Linked DNA regions of Homo sapiens: region 1 is linked to region 2. The links are contacts of gene promoters, found by promoter capture Hi-C in blood cells and fetal thymus (Javierre and others, 2016). All regions are on one chromosome and are shown on one strand. Each heading gives the region's core, a stretch centred on a gene start or on the middle of the fragment in contact. The rest is flanking DNA. Distances are from core to core; before and after follow the strand shown.

Evidence for each region. The method cuts DNA at HindIII sites, captures the fragments that hold promoters and counts their contacts. A CHiCAGO score of 5 or more calls a contact.
Region 1: a contact is called between a fragment that was not itself captured here and the fragment with the promoter of ORMDL3 in region 2, in 1 of 17 cell types (activated CD4 T cells). The highest score is 5.1, in activated CD4 T cells.

Annotation. Positions count from the first base shown.
Region 1 is chr17:39,788,901-39,795,664 of GRCh38, forward strand. It overlaps IKZF3 (IKAROS family zinc finger 3), which reads right to left. Exons shown (of 8, transcript NM_012481.5): 4 at 3,773-4,033; 5 at 2,516-2,683. Among named protein-coding and RNA genes, the nearest start is that of GRB7, 54 kb to the left of the region's middle. RefSeq lists enhancers at 2,744-2,853, 3,951-4,080. The HindIII fragment of the contact is 5,694 bases long and covers 1-5,320 here.
Region 2 is chr17:39,926,351-39,933,321 of GRCh38, forward strand. It overlaps ORMDL3 (ORMDL sphingolipid biosynthesis regulator 3), which reads right to left and starts at 1,251. Exons shown (of 4, transcript NM_139280.4): 1 at 1,134-1,251. LRRC3C (leucine rich repeat containing 3C) reads left to right here and starts at 1,382. Exons shown (of 4, transcript NM_001195545.2): 1 at 1,382-1,464. It overlaps LOC124903999 (a long non-coding RNA gene), which reads left to right and starts at 370. Exons shown (of 2, transcript XR_007065750.1): 1 at 370-412; 2 at 578-652. RefSeq lists enhancers at 505-1,115, 1,116-1,727. The HindIII fragment of the contact is 24,326 bases long and covers 1-6,971 here.

The DNA of each region.
Region 1 (6,764 bases), core at 1,224-3,723, 140 kb before region 2:
TAAAACAATAAAAACTGAGCTAATTAACTACGGATTTTTTTGTTTTTTTGTTTTTGAGACAGGGTCTCACTCTATCACCCAGGCTTGGGTGCAGTGGTGAAATCACAGCTCGCTACAGCCCCAATTTCATAGGCTCAGGTGAAGTCTGGGCCTCCCAAAGGCCACCTTGGCCTCCCAAAGTGAGAGGCTTACAGGTGTGAGCCATTGCACCCGGCCAGGATATTTTTGAATAATAGAAATAAAAATAGGCCGGGCGCAGTGGCTGACACCTGTAATCCCAGCACTTTGGGAGGCCGAAGTGGGAGGATCACCTGAGGTCAGGAGTTCGAGACCAGCCTGCCTAACATGGCAAAACCCCATCTCTACTAAAAATACAAAAATTAGCCAGGCACAGTGGCTCACGCCTGTAATCTCAGCACTTTCGGAGGCCGAGGCAGGCGGATCACGAGGTGAGGAGTTCGAGACCAGCCTGGCCAATGTGGTGAAACCCCATCTCTACTAAAAATACAAAAATTAGCCAGGCGTGATGGCGTGACCCTTTAGTCCCAGCTACTCAGGAGGCTGAGGCAGAAGAATCGCTTGAACCTGGGAGGTGGAGGTTGCAGTGGGCTGAGATTGCACCACTGCATCCCAGCCTGGGCGGCAGAGTGAGACTCCATCTCAAACAAACAAACAAAATTAGCCGGGCGTCGTGGTAGGCATCTATAATCCCAGCTACTAGGGAGGCTGAGGCAGGAGAATCGCTTGAACCTGGGAGGTAGAGGTTGCAGTGAGCTGAGATGGCGCCGCTGTACTCCAGCCTGGGTGACAGAGTGAGACACCATCTCAAACAAACAAACAAACAAACAAAATTAGCTGGGCGTTGTGGTAGGCATCTATAATCCCAGCTACTAGGGAGGCTGAGGCAGGAGAATCGCTTGAACCTGGGAGGCGGAGGTTGCAGTGAGCCAAGATCACGCCACTGCAACAGCCTAGGCAACAGAGCAAGACTCCGTCTCAAAAAAAAAAAAAAAAAGAGAGAAATAAAAATGAATTGTAAAAATGACTTCGTCTAAATGTCTAAGATGAAGGAAAGGTTTCACCCATACAATTCATGCAAACTTTATTCTGCCAACTCCCCAAATGCTTTATTGCTTGAAATATGTAAGTAATAACTTCAACTATCTGTGCAAGGCTGGTCTTTCTGATTGTTGATAGAATATACTCAATGAATTTGTCAGTTTTAGGGGCTAAAATTTTTATTTTCTAACTCTTGCTCTGTTTAAAACAGAGGCTTTGGGATTTAAAGCACTAAAAGATCCTTATGGAATCCTAAATTAAAACAAATGCAGGTTTGCTAGGGCTAAAAATGTTACGTTTCTGCATAAATTGGGTTCTCTGGAATCTGTCTTTAAAAAGCCTACTATTGTTTCTTACTTGAAAAAGGCAACAGTAGAGAACTATTCTAATTTTTTTCGAACCAAACTCATCCTTAATTCACTACTTTGAAAAATGAGCTGTAAAAGAGAGAAACCCTTCAATTGCCAATTATGATCTCTCATGGTGGGTTTTGTTGGGGCTGACTTGTTTAATCCTAGTGGCTGAATTATAACAAGTTTTGAGTTTGGGGCTAGGTTTTAATCAAAGCAGTAGATGTGAACTGACATAAAAACAAGCCTTTTTTTCCAATTAAAATTTTGCCAGATAACATCAAGAACATGAGGTCCCAAATTTGAAAATAAACTCAGTCTTATTTTTCTAGGACGGAAATTCTAAATCTTGAAAAAAAAGTATTATCTTGGTCAAAATAAGGAGTAAAAACATCACGACAGCACATAACTTTTACAAATCTTTACCGTTGTTCAATCTTTTAGAGATTTAAAATAAGTAGGCTGGCTGGGCATGGTGGCTCCTGCCTGTAATCCCAGCACTTTGGGAGGTCAAAGTGGGAGGAATGCCTGAGCTCAGAAGTTTGAGACCAGCCTGAGCAACATAGTGAGACCTCATGTTTATTTAAAAAAAAAAAAAAAAGTGGGCCAATCAAGAGGAAAGTTGGATTTAATAAATTTATCCCAAATGGCCAAAAAGTAGCCCCCAAACAATGATTTATATCCAGATCACAGTTTTTCATAATTTACAAACTGTACATCATTTGCTTGTCTCGTCTTTTGAATGGAAAGAGTGTGTGTGTTGGGAAAATAATCTTCTAATAAAGTTTACCAGAAGAAAATACTGATGGCTATAATTTTCTCACAAAAATTAAAAGGACATTTTTTATAGGGTGGGCTCTTCCTATCTGACTGTGTTGTTCTCCATGGGTGCAAGGATGGTGAGGAGATGATCATCTCCACTGAGGCAGACGGAGAGCAATTAGTGCCTTAATGGTCGTGTAATTAGCCCTAGAGGTCTCTGCTGTTGTAACCCTTCAGAACAAGAATGACAGATTGAAACCTTCCTACTTAACTCTTTCTAGTTTCCACACTGGGCTCTGAGGAATGCACTTCCTAGACAAGGAATGCTCATTTCTCTCACTTACCAGAATGTGTCCTAAGATGCCCCGTGAGCGCATCTCTTCTTTGGCATGCATAGTTGCAGAGGTGACACTTAAAAGGTTTTTCCCCTGTGTGCAGTTTAATGTGGCGGAGGAGGTTACCTTTCTGAGTAAAAGATGCCCCACACTGATTACACTGGAATGGGCGTTCACCTTTAAAAAGGACAAAAAAGGAGATTTCTGGTCACAGGCAAGTGGAGAAACATATGCACAGATTAGATGCCTAGGGGAAAAGCTCATCTTTTAGACAATTACTGTTCACATTGGGATCAGTTGGGAGCTGCATTTCAAGGCAAGCCTAAGACTTACTTATGAAATCTCCTCTGTAGAAGAGAAAAAGCACCCACTAGCAAGGCTATTTTAGGTATCATATTGAATCAGAGCAAAGAAACAAGAGCAGCTCTAGAAGTGCTTTCTAGATCTAAGTTTTTATATTACTATATTACTTGGTACTCCCTTTTTTTTTTTTTTTTTTTTTTAGACAGGGTCTTCTTGCTCTGTTGCTCAGGCTGGAGTGCAATGGTCCCATCATGGCTCACTGAAACCTTGACCTCCTGGGTTCAAGTGAGCCTGTCACCTCAGCCTTCAGAATAGCTGGGACTACCAGTGTTTGCCATTATGCCTGGCTAATTTTTTAGTATTCCTTTTGAATATAATCTCCTTTGAAAAAAGAGCCAGAAACTAAAGTCCTTACAAGGTGTTGAGGGCTAGAAATTCTCCTTTTTAAAGTCTTCATATGAGATATGGGATGGAATCGACTGGCTCAAGTGCGATGGTTGTGTTTGTATGCATTTCTATAGACTACCTGTTTATTGTCTGAAGATACATTATTTTAAGCTGGAAATAAAAACTATGTCCTTTCATTTACCAAATTTGAACCCAATACAATAAGAAGATCTGCTCTTATTAAAAATGTTATGCAAAAATATACAAAAGATGGCTAAGAAGCAAATCACACAATTCAACTCCTACTTAGAAACTGAAGAAAAAGTATTTGGCTGACCTAGAACACTGTGCTCTCTACAGTCTTTTTTTATTCATAGCATTTGCAATATGTTTGCCAAATGCATGGTGAGGCAGGAATAAAAAGCACTGAGTGAACAGCAATGCAGAGAGAGAGATACATCAGCATTATAGCAAAAATCAATGAAAGTAACCAAAAGTTCCAAATTCCACCACTTCATTTCTCACGTGGCTGCATTAGGAGAGTTTTCAGAAGAATGAAAAAAGCAGACTATTTACCAGTATGGCTTCGCTTATGAACCATTAAGACATTGAAGCTGATGCAGGATAATCCACACACATCGCAGTTCATCTTTCCACTGGTTGGCCTGCTACTATCGAATGAGACAACATGTCTCTCCAACTTAATGTTTTCATATTCATTATATTCTCTTGAATAGCTGTAAGGGATTTCAGGCTCTTCTGCATTTCCCATGGGTTCTGACTTTAAAACATTCTCATCTCTTTCACTGTATTCATCTTTCACTTTCATTGAATCATCTGCAGGGAAGAAAATGCAAGAAATGAACAACGACTATACTTGAAGCTATCAAAGCAGCTCAAACAGCAGAGACCCACAACTGACAATTAAATACCAATCGAAGCTAACAAAACACTGTACATCTACAAAACAAGAAAGCACCATTAGCGTGACCGCACGTTATTTAAATTCAGAACCACAGTCAGAGGAAAACACACATACTTACACACATAAAAATAGACGATAGTGTTTTAGGCTATCCAGAAAATTACAGATAATAGATTTTAGCTAAGTTTGCTCAAAGTGGCCATGAAACAAACATTGAGCAACTCTTCTCCAGTACTAGGGGAGAGGAAGGGTTCTCAGATCTAGTACTGTTTTTGGTGGCTGCAGTTAAAAAGGCAAGGTGATGTACTCTTAGGTTTCAAGGAGAAAATATTGTTTGAATCCTTCAGATGCATCCAGTGTAAGCCATTAAGATTAAGAGTTGACTAGTTAACATAGTTTTTCTAATTTTAAGCCATGCATTGCCTCTTCCCCTTCCACGTATATGAATTGCTAAAACACATCTTATCTCTGTCTCTCTTGGAGCTGATAAAGGCACAACATTGACTGTAGAGGAAGTTGTCAGTACTAATGAAAAAGTGTTGAGAAAGACAAAAGGAAAAGTAATTCTTTCATATAACCTAAGGAGTCACTTTCATCGACACAGGTAAGTGGGGCTCAATCTAAATAAGGGGAAGGACCATTAGGTCCCAAGTTAGGGAGAACTAAACTCAAGGACTCAAGGATTGTGTAATAGGACTGGATAGGAGAGGAGGGACTGGCTCAAGTGAGTTGGCTGACCAAGTACTATCTTAAGAACTGCAATGTAAATGAATGAAATTTAAAAGAAGAGCTGTAATACTCTTCATGAAGAGCATAAGAACATATGAAGAACGTGGGAAAAATATGAAGAACATAAGAAACAAAGAAGGCAAATTTATGTACTTGCACTGACACTAGTAAAACCTAAAAATTTGCCTGATGTAAGAATAATAAACATTTGTAAGGGATTTTGCATATATAAAATATGCTATATAAATGCTTACTTTTTCAACCATTGGTCCTTAGAAATCAAAAGTTGTACCTCCCCATGAGGAATCACAAATCAATGGAGTGTAGGGCTGGAAGGGAATTTAAAGGTCATCTAATCCAACCCTCTTGTTTCTCAGATGAGGAAATCTGGGAGCAGAGATGTTTTTGGTCATTTGTCGAAGGTTACACATCCAGTTACTGGCAGAGGTGTGATTAGAATGCAAAACTTAAGCTTGAACTATCAATTACTTGGATTTGACCTCATGCACTAGACATATAAGGCCTAAGTGGGTTCTTACCAACTGTATTACACACCCTCCCATCAATGGTGTAAATGTTAAAACCCAAAACAGTCTGAAAAAAGATATTTTAAAAAACTACATCCCTTCCAAAAAACATCAGTAAGTGTTGCTCCTCTTGCTGCATAGGAGGAAGTACAACTGCAGCTGTGCCTGGCTTGCTACCTTCAACCCAAGTTTCAATTTTCACTTCTATCAAGGTTACCTTTCATCTATATTAACTGTGTTTGCTTAATAGAGCAAGACAGGGCCTAACCACCATCAGAGGAGCCAGGGCTGCCACACAGTTCCACTGCTTCCTACCACAGTTCATGGTTCACAACTTTTCACTCTTTGACTAGCAAAGATGTAGGGCTGTAGGATAAGTCCAACATGTTTCAAATTTGCCCACCCTATGGATCTGGATTATATAAGAAATGATATCTGTTTCCTACTTGGAAAGAGGTTTACTTCTTTCTCTGGATAGGTCTTCCCTGCTTTCAAGTGGAATTTGTTTGCTTAAGTGTTTATTTTTTATTTTTTTAAGAGAAGGATGCACCTGAGGCTTGTACTTGCCTCCCTTCCTCCATCACTCCAGCTGTGGGTAATATCCCACCAAAGCTTGAGTGCTCTTCAGTTTGCATGTAGGCGTTTAAAAGAACCTCAACGGAAAATTTCAGCTACTTAAAACCAAAAACAGCAGATAGAAAAGGCCAGCAGAAAAGGATCCTTTCCATTTTGGTTAGAAAATGTGAACATGACCAGACTCAGGCCACTCCATGGTCACTGAACTTTAAAATGTAGTAAGATCAATGTGTTGAGTCTTTCTGAAAACAGAGGACATAAGAGAGCTGCTCCTTTCCCTCAGGATTTTGGCTTTAGTTGGCCTGACCTGGAATTCAATACGACACCATCCTGGCTCAAGAGCAGATCTTAGCTTTAGTCCTTTAGGAGTCAGCTATAGAGCAAGGAAGACAGTATTTGAGACCCAGGGACATAAGGACACAGGGACAGGGCATTAGAGAAGTCCTTTGGGCTTACATAGTTGCTGGTTTGCCTTTGGAGTCTTACCAGTTTTAGATGAATGACCTGGATGACCTCTCTGCATGGTTACTGGGGATTAGCAACTTATTTTTATTTTATTCTATTTTATTTTTTGAGACATAGTCTTGCTCTGTTGCCCAGCCTGGAGTGTAGTGGCACGATCAGCTCACTGCCACCTCTGCTTCCCAGGTTCAAGTGATTCTCCTGCCTCAGCCTCCCGAGTAGCTGGGATTACAGGCATGCACCACAATGCCTGGCTGATTTTTGTGTTTTTAGTAAAGACGGGGTTTCGCCATGTTGGCCAGGCTGGTCTCGAACTCCTGACCTCAAGTGATCCACCCTCCTTGGCCTC
Region 2 (6,971 bases), core at 1-2,500:
GAGATCAATAAACTAACAAAAAGACTGGCAATGAGGAAACACTCTTGAGACTTTCGTGTGACTATGGATACATATCACTTCCATTAGTAAAACAACCAACTGGCCCCTACCCTAGATGGGGAGAAACAGAGAGAAGAGGCTGGCAGAGGTCGACTAGGTCTACAGGAGTTGAGCCGAAAACTTCTGCTGCCATAGCTGGCAGGTGGCTGCTTAGTGCTGGGCCCTGATGTGGTTTCATAACCTGCCTCAAACCAGAGCCTGCAGCAACTCTGTTGTGTTAACCACTTTTTTGCTGGTAGCTCTTTCCCCCTCCTTCCCGCCCCACCCTCTTGGCTCCACATACAAATATCCGGGCCCAGCCAGTATGCCAGACACTCAAGCCAAGGCTGAGCACCACCAGGGCAGCCACCAGGTGAGCCCTTCCCATTCCCTCCCCCAGGAAAGAGCAGCCCTCACAACAGCAAACCTCCTGTCTTCTGGAAGAGGAGCACAAAACATCCAGGCCTGGATGGGGACCCCAACGGGGAGTCCGGGGCAGCACGTCACAATGCCATGTCCATTCCGCCCACCCCCCAAGCTGCAGGACCACAGCTGATAACCTCTCAACTTTGGCCCAGCCACCCCGACTGGGGGAGGGCGGTAGGAGCGGAAAGCGAGTGCCCAGGCGAACCCGCACTAAGCACAGGAGAGGAGGAGCGAAGAGGCGGAGTCCTCACTGTTGTTGGGGTTTTCTGAGTGAGACCTCGGGTGCGGGGCCGGGGGGAGGGGTCCCGCTCTGTTCCCCAGCCTGGGTCTTCGCACTCGGAACCCGGTCCGGTCCGGGACCCCACAGCCATCTCCACGCGTTCACCCAGCCCTGGAGGCAGCCAAACGTTTATCCCCGAAGCCGAGCCGCTCCCCGCCTCCCACCCCTAGCCGAGGCGCTCCTCCCGACGTTCCACCCCCGGCCTCCCGCTCGCACTTTATTCCTTGGCCACCTCCCCAGCCGATGCACCCCCTCGGCTGATGCACTCCCTCCACCCCCCACTCCCTCTGCCCCCGTCTCTCCAGCCCGGGGCGCCTCCCCAGCAGCCCCCACCTTCTCTCCCGCCCCTCCCGTAGCCCTGGGGCCTCTTGGTTCCTTCCGGGCTCACCGTGTGGGGCCGAAGATCAACGGCCCGGGAACGGTTCCCGGGAGCGGGGGCCGCTGCTGCTCCAGCAGCTGTAACAACCCGCGGCTGCAGCCTCCCCGCTGGCAGCTCCGGCCGAATCAGCGCTCCGCGCCGGTCCCCGTACGTCACCGCCCCGCGCCGGCACGCCCGACGCCTTCTGGGAGTTGTAGTTTCTTCCGCTGGCTCCGGGCCGGCCCTCCCGACGCCTCCTGGGAGTTGTAGTTTTTCCTGGGCTCCGTTCCCGGCCTCTTCGGGGACGCACGGTTGGAAGTTGTACCGTGACGTGATGGTCAGATCGGATGATAGAATTTTGGTGCGTAACAATTCCAACTTTTGCTTCTGTGCCCTTCAAGTGTATTTTATCCGTGCCCCAGTTTTGCAGATGAGGAGACTCGGACTTGTAAGTAACTTTCTGTAGGTCTTTGCTGGGTCCTAGACTGGATCGAAACCCAAATATTCTGACCCCAACTGCAGGATTTTTCCACTGCACCTGGCTGCCTCCGCCCTGGCCCCAGATTGGCTCCTCCAGAAACAGACTAGCCCGGCCCTTTGCCCTGCTGGGCCCTCCTGGGAGAGCGCTTTTCACAACATTGGCTGGGATGAGGGTCTGGAGGGCCCGGAACGGAGCCTGCCTTCTCCTTCTCAGTCACGCTTGGCCCAGGCTGCCCCGGACCGGGCCACATCCTTGGCCGCCCCGCACCTGACGTGAGAAGAGGCTACGTATCATAGATTCCTCCATCAGTAGTAAGGAGCCTGAGTTTCTGTCTCAGGTCAGCTTGTGTGGCTTTGAATGAGAGGCTCTGGTCTGCAGTTTTCACATCTGCATCGTCTAAAGGCAAGGGCACAGACTTTACTGCCTGGTAGACATGGGGTAGGCCCTCCTTTATTGGCAGTGTGACCCTGGGCAAATTACTTGTCTTAATCTCCAATTCCACACCTGTGAAACCCCACCTCCAAGGTTGTGGGAACCCAAAAGAATGTATGTAAAGCACCTGTTGCATTGTAGGAATCTACTTAATATTACTGTAGGAGGTTGAACTAAATGGCTCTTGAGGTCTCCTCGGTTACTCCCATTCTCCATGTCACCAAGAGGTCTTGTCTGGGTAGTTTCAACTCCTTACCCAGCTTCTTTCTAAGTCCACTCTATGCAGGGCAGGGCTGGAATAGCAAGGTCAGATGATGTCATGGCATGCCAACCTGACTCTGAATGGCAGTTCATGGCACCCTGAACTGAAAGTGAGGGAACAGGAAGGAAAAGGCTAGCCCAGGGAAACTGCGGAGCACTTTACTCGGACTACACCTACCTTTCCTTCCCCAGGGGGCTGCCAGGAAACAGTTGTCACACAGCTGGAGTGGGACCCCCAGAGGCACTTAGTGGTCACCAGGCAGGTGGGTATTTGAACCACCCAGAGCAGAACAGGCAGCTTCTTCAATATTTCCAGGGCCAATGGCCCCAAAAGGGCTCATTCCAAGATCGAAATAATCATCTGAGTCTGAAATAGCTCTGCCTATGTCCTGTGGAAGTTTCTCCTGGTTTGTGGAGGTGCCTTTCCTTATAGTCATCTTTCTGCAGACATAAGCAAACCCAGTGTTGTTCTTTTCACAGAAACCTCCCCAGCATTAAGGCAAGAAAGGTGTCTCTGTTTTTTCCGAAGTGTGCCTGCTTGACTCCTTTGATTTTTCTCTGGGATTCTTCATCCTCCATCAAGTTGATCGATCCCTCTGGATCTTGGTCAGTTTCCTGACATCTCTATGAAGTTCAGTGACCCAGACTGAGTCCACGTCTCAAATAAGGTTCTGACTAATGCAGAGTCTAACAGAAAGATTACTGAACATGTCATGCACTATTAATAACTCCTGTTATCGAGGATTTTTTTTTCACAATAGGAATGAACAGAGTTCTGACTCACTCTAGGTTTGTGGTAAATTGCAGATCACTTTCTGCTTTATTTAGCGGGAGTCCCTGTTGTCATCTTTCTCCTTCTCTCTTGGCCCTCATAATTATCATATCTTCCCCAAACGTTCTTCAGCTGTGAATAGCCCTAAGCACTATTCAGAGTGAGTGACAGCTCTCTTATTTCGTGCTGGGGGACATACAAACCCTTGGACAAACACTTGTCACTGTGTGCCAAGAAGCTGAAAAATTCTTCTTGCCTCAGAGCCATAATTACACTTTTGGTAGCATATTCTAAGGAAGTCATCCCATGTACAGGAAAAGCTGCAATGTGTCAGGATGTTCATTCCAGCAATATTTATAGTAGTGAAAAACTGAAAGCAACCAAATGCCCAAGAAAAAAATTACAGTATATCCACTGGATGGAATAGTATGAAGCCATTTAGGACAGATTGTGAAAACCCTGTGGCAGTATGGGGAATGTTTGCTAAGTTATATGAAAAGATGAGGACACAAAATAGCATAACATACATTCCCCAGGGATATAGTCAGCAAAGTCTAGAATGAAGAAAATTAGGACAAACACCCAATTCCCTTAACAAATAAAACTGGGGCCAGGTATGGTGACTCACGCCTGTAATCCCAGCACTTTGAGAGGCCAAGGCTTGTGTCCAGGAGTTCGAGACCAACCTGGACAACATGGTAAAACCCCGTGGTCTACAAAAAATACAAAAATTAGTTGGGCATGGTGGTGTGTCTATAGTCCCAGCTACTCAGGAGGCTGAGGTGGGAGGATCAATTGAGCCCGGGAGGTCAAGGCTGCAGTGAGCTGTGATCGTGCCAGTGCATTCCAGTCTGGGCAGCAGAGTGAGATCCTGTCTCAAAAAAAAAAAAAAAAAAAAAGGAAAAAAAAGAGGGGGAGAGACTTACAGATTAAAATAAATTAAATGATATATCAACTAAAAGTCTTATTTGGATCCTGATTCAAGCAAACTGACTTTAAAAAAAAAAAAAAAAAAAAAAAAAAAAAGGCCGGGCATGGTCACGCATGCCTGTAACCCCAGTACTTTGGGAGGCCAAGGTAGGCGGATCACCTGAGGTCAGGAGTTTGACACCAGCCTGGCCAACGTGGTGAAACTCCGTCTCTACTAAAACTACAAAAACTAGCTGGGTGTGGTGATGGGCGCCTGTAATCCCAGCTACTCAGGAGGCTGAAGCAAGAGAATTGCTTGAACCCAGGAGGCAGAGGTTGTAGTGAGCCAAGATTGCACCATTGGCACTCCAGCCTGGGTGACTGAGCAAGGCTCTGTCTCAAAAAAAAAAAAAAAAAAAAAAAGATTTTATTAAGTTATCAGGCAAATTTGAATACTGACAAGGTATTCAACGATATTAAGGAATTCTAAATGTTTAGGCGTGATATGGAATTGTGGTAAGGTTGTTTTTTTAATTTAAAAAGTCCTCCATGGCTGGGCGTGGTAGCTCATGCCTGTAATCCCAGCACTTTGGGAGGCTCAGGCAGACAGATCACCTGAGGTCAGGAGTTCGAGACCAGCCTGGCCAACATGGTGAAACCCCGCCTCTACTAAAAATACAAAAATTAGCCAGGCGTGGTGACAGGCGCCTATAATCCCAGCTACTTGAGAGGCTGAGGCAGGAGAATCGCTTGAACCCAGGAGGTGGAGGATGCAGTGAGCCGAGATCGTGCCATTGCACTCCAGCCTGGGAGACAAGAGTGAAACTTCATCTCAAAAAAAAAAAAAGTCTTCCTTGGCTGGGTGCGTTGGATCACACCTGTAATCCCAGCACTTTGGGAGGTGAGGCAGGCAGATCACAAGGTCAGGAGTTTGAGACCAGCCTGGCCAGCATGGTGAAATCCCGTCTCTACTAAAAATAGAAAAAAATTAGCCAGGCATGGTGGCACGTGCCTGTAATCCCAGCTACTCGGGAGGCTGAGGCAGGAGAATTACTTGAAACTGGGAGGCAGAGGTTGCAGTGAGCCGAGATCATACCACTGTACTCCACCCCGGGTGACAGAGAGAGACTTCGTCTCAAAAAAAAAAAAAAAAAAAAAGTCCTCCTTTCAGACATACATACATACTAAAATATCTGTGGATGAAATGATACAGTGATTGCATTTGCTTCGAAATAATCTGGACTGGGAACCATAGGGAAATAATAAGATGAGCCATGAGGTGATAATTATGGAAGCTGTGTGATGAGGACATGAAGTTCCTTATATTATTTTCTATACTTTTTTTTTTTTTTTTTTTTTGAGACAGAGTCTCACTCTGTCACCCAGGCTGGAGCACAGTGGTGCAGTTTCGGCTCACTGCAACCTCCGCCTCCCTAGTTCAAGAGATTTTCCTGCCTCAGCCTCCCGAGTGGGCTGGGATTACAGGTGCACGCCACCACATCCAGGTAATTTTTGTATTTTTAGTTGAGACAGGGTTTCACCATGTTGGCCAGGCTGGTTTTGAACTCCTGACTTCAAGTGATCTGCCCACCTTGGCCTCCCAAAGTGCTGGGATTACAGGCATGAGCCACCACGCCTGGGCTATTTTCTCTACTTTTTTAATGTTTAAAACTGTTCATAATAAAAAGTCTAAACCTGCATATACGTTAATGATTAAGATAAGCCAAAATAGAGCAGCACTGGTAACATCCTCTGGCACCAGACTGCCAGGGTTCAACTCGCAGCTCCTCTAGTTACCAGCTGTGTAACCTTAAGCAAGTTACTGAACCTCTCTGTGCTTCAGTTACCTCGTTGCTAAAAGAATTGGCAAGTGACACTGGTGTTCGGAAAAAATAAAGTAAATGAAGATGGCGATGATCATGATAATACCCTCCTCATGTTGTGGATATTAAATGGGTCAGTAAATGTGAAATGAAACACTCAAAACAATTCCTGGCACATAATTAAGTGCTCAGTATGTGTTGCCTTTTATTAATTCATTCCACATTTGAATGATATTTGAGCATCTACTTTACTAGGTTATGGAAATTCAACAAAATAAAAACAGACCTTGGGCCGGGCACTGTGGCTCAAGCCTGTAATCCCAGCACTTTGGGAAGCTGAGGCGGGAGGATTGCTTGAGGCCAGGAGTTCAAGACCAGCCTGGCAACGTAATGAGACCCCCCCCCCACCCAACCACCATCTCTATAAAAAACAAAAATAAATTAGCCGGGCATGGTGGCATGTTCCCGTAGTCCCAGCTACTCAGGAGGCTAAGGCGGGAGGATCGCTTGAGCCCAAGGAATTCGAGGCTGCAGTGAGTTATGATCTCGCTAGGAATTCGAGGCTGCAGTGAGTTATGATCTCGCTATTTCACTCCAGCCTGGGCAATAAAGCAAGCCCTGTCTCTTAAAACAACAACAACCGGGCATGGTGGCTAGCGCCTGTAATCCCAGCACTTTGGGAGGCCGAGGCAGGTGGATCATCTGAGGTCAGGAGTTCGAGACCAGCCTGGCCAACATGGTGAAACCCCGTCTCTACTAAAAATGCAAAAATTAGCCAGGCATGGTGGCGCGCCCCTGTAATCCCAGTTACTAGGAAGACTGAGGTGGGAGAATTGCTTGAACCCGGGAGGCGGAGGCTGCAGAGAGCAGAGATGGCGCCATTTTACTCCAGCCTGGGCAACAAGAGTGGAACTTTGTCTCAAAAAATAAAGAAAGGAAGGAAGGAAGGAAGAAAGACAACAACAAAAAAACCTTGAATCAGGATGAAGGGATTTAGGGTGATCTTTTTCATTCTCTAGTTTCAAACTTCACGTAATGTGGTATTACTTTTAAATTTTTTATTAAAATTGTTTAAAAACAAAATGAGTCTGCCACAGGCTCTTTCTGCCCTCTGGGAGTTCCTTAGGCTGCTGAGGTAGACACATTCCCCAGCCTCAGTGTGCTTTCATCTGGTGATCTGGGAGTGGTGA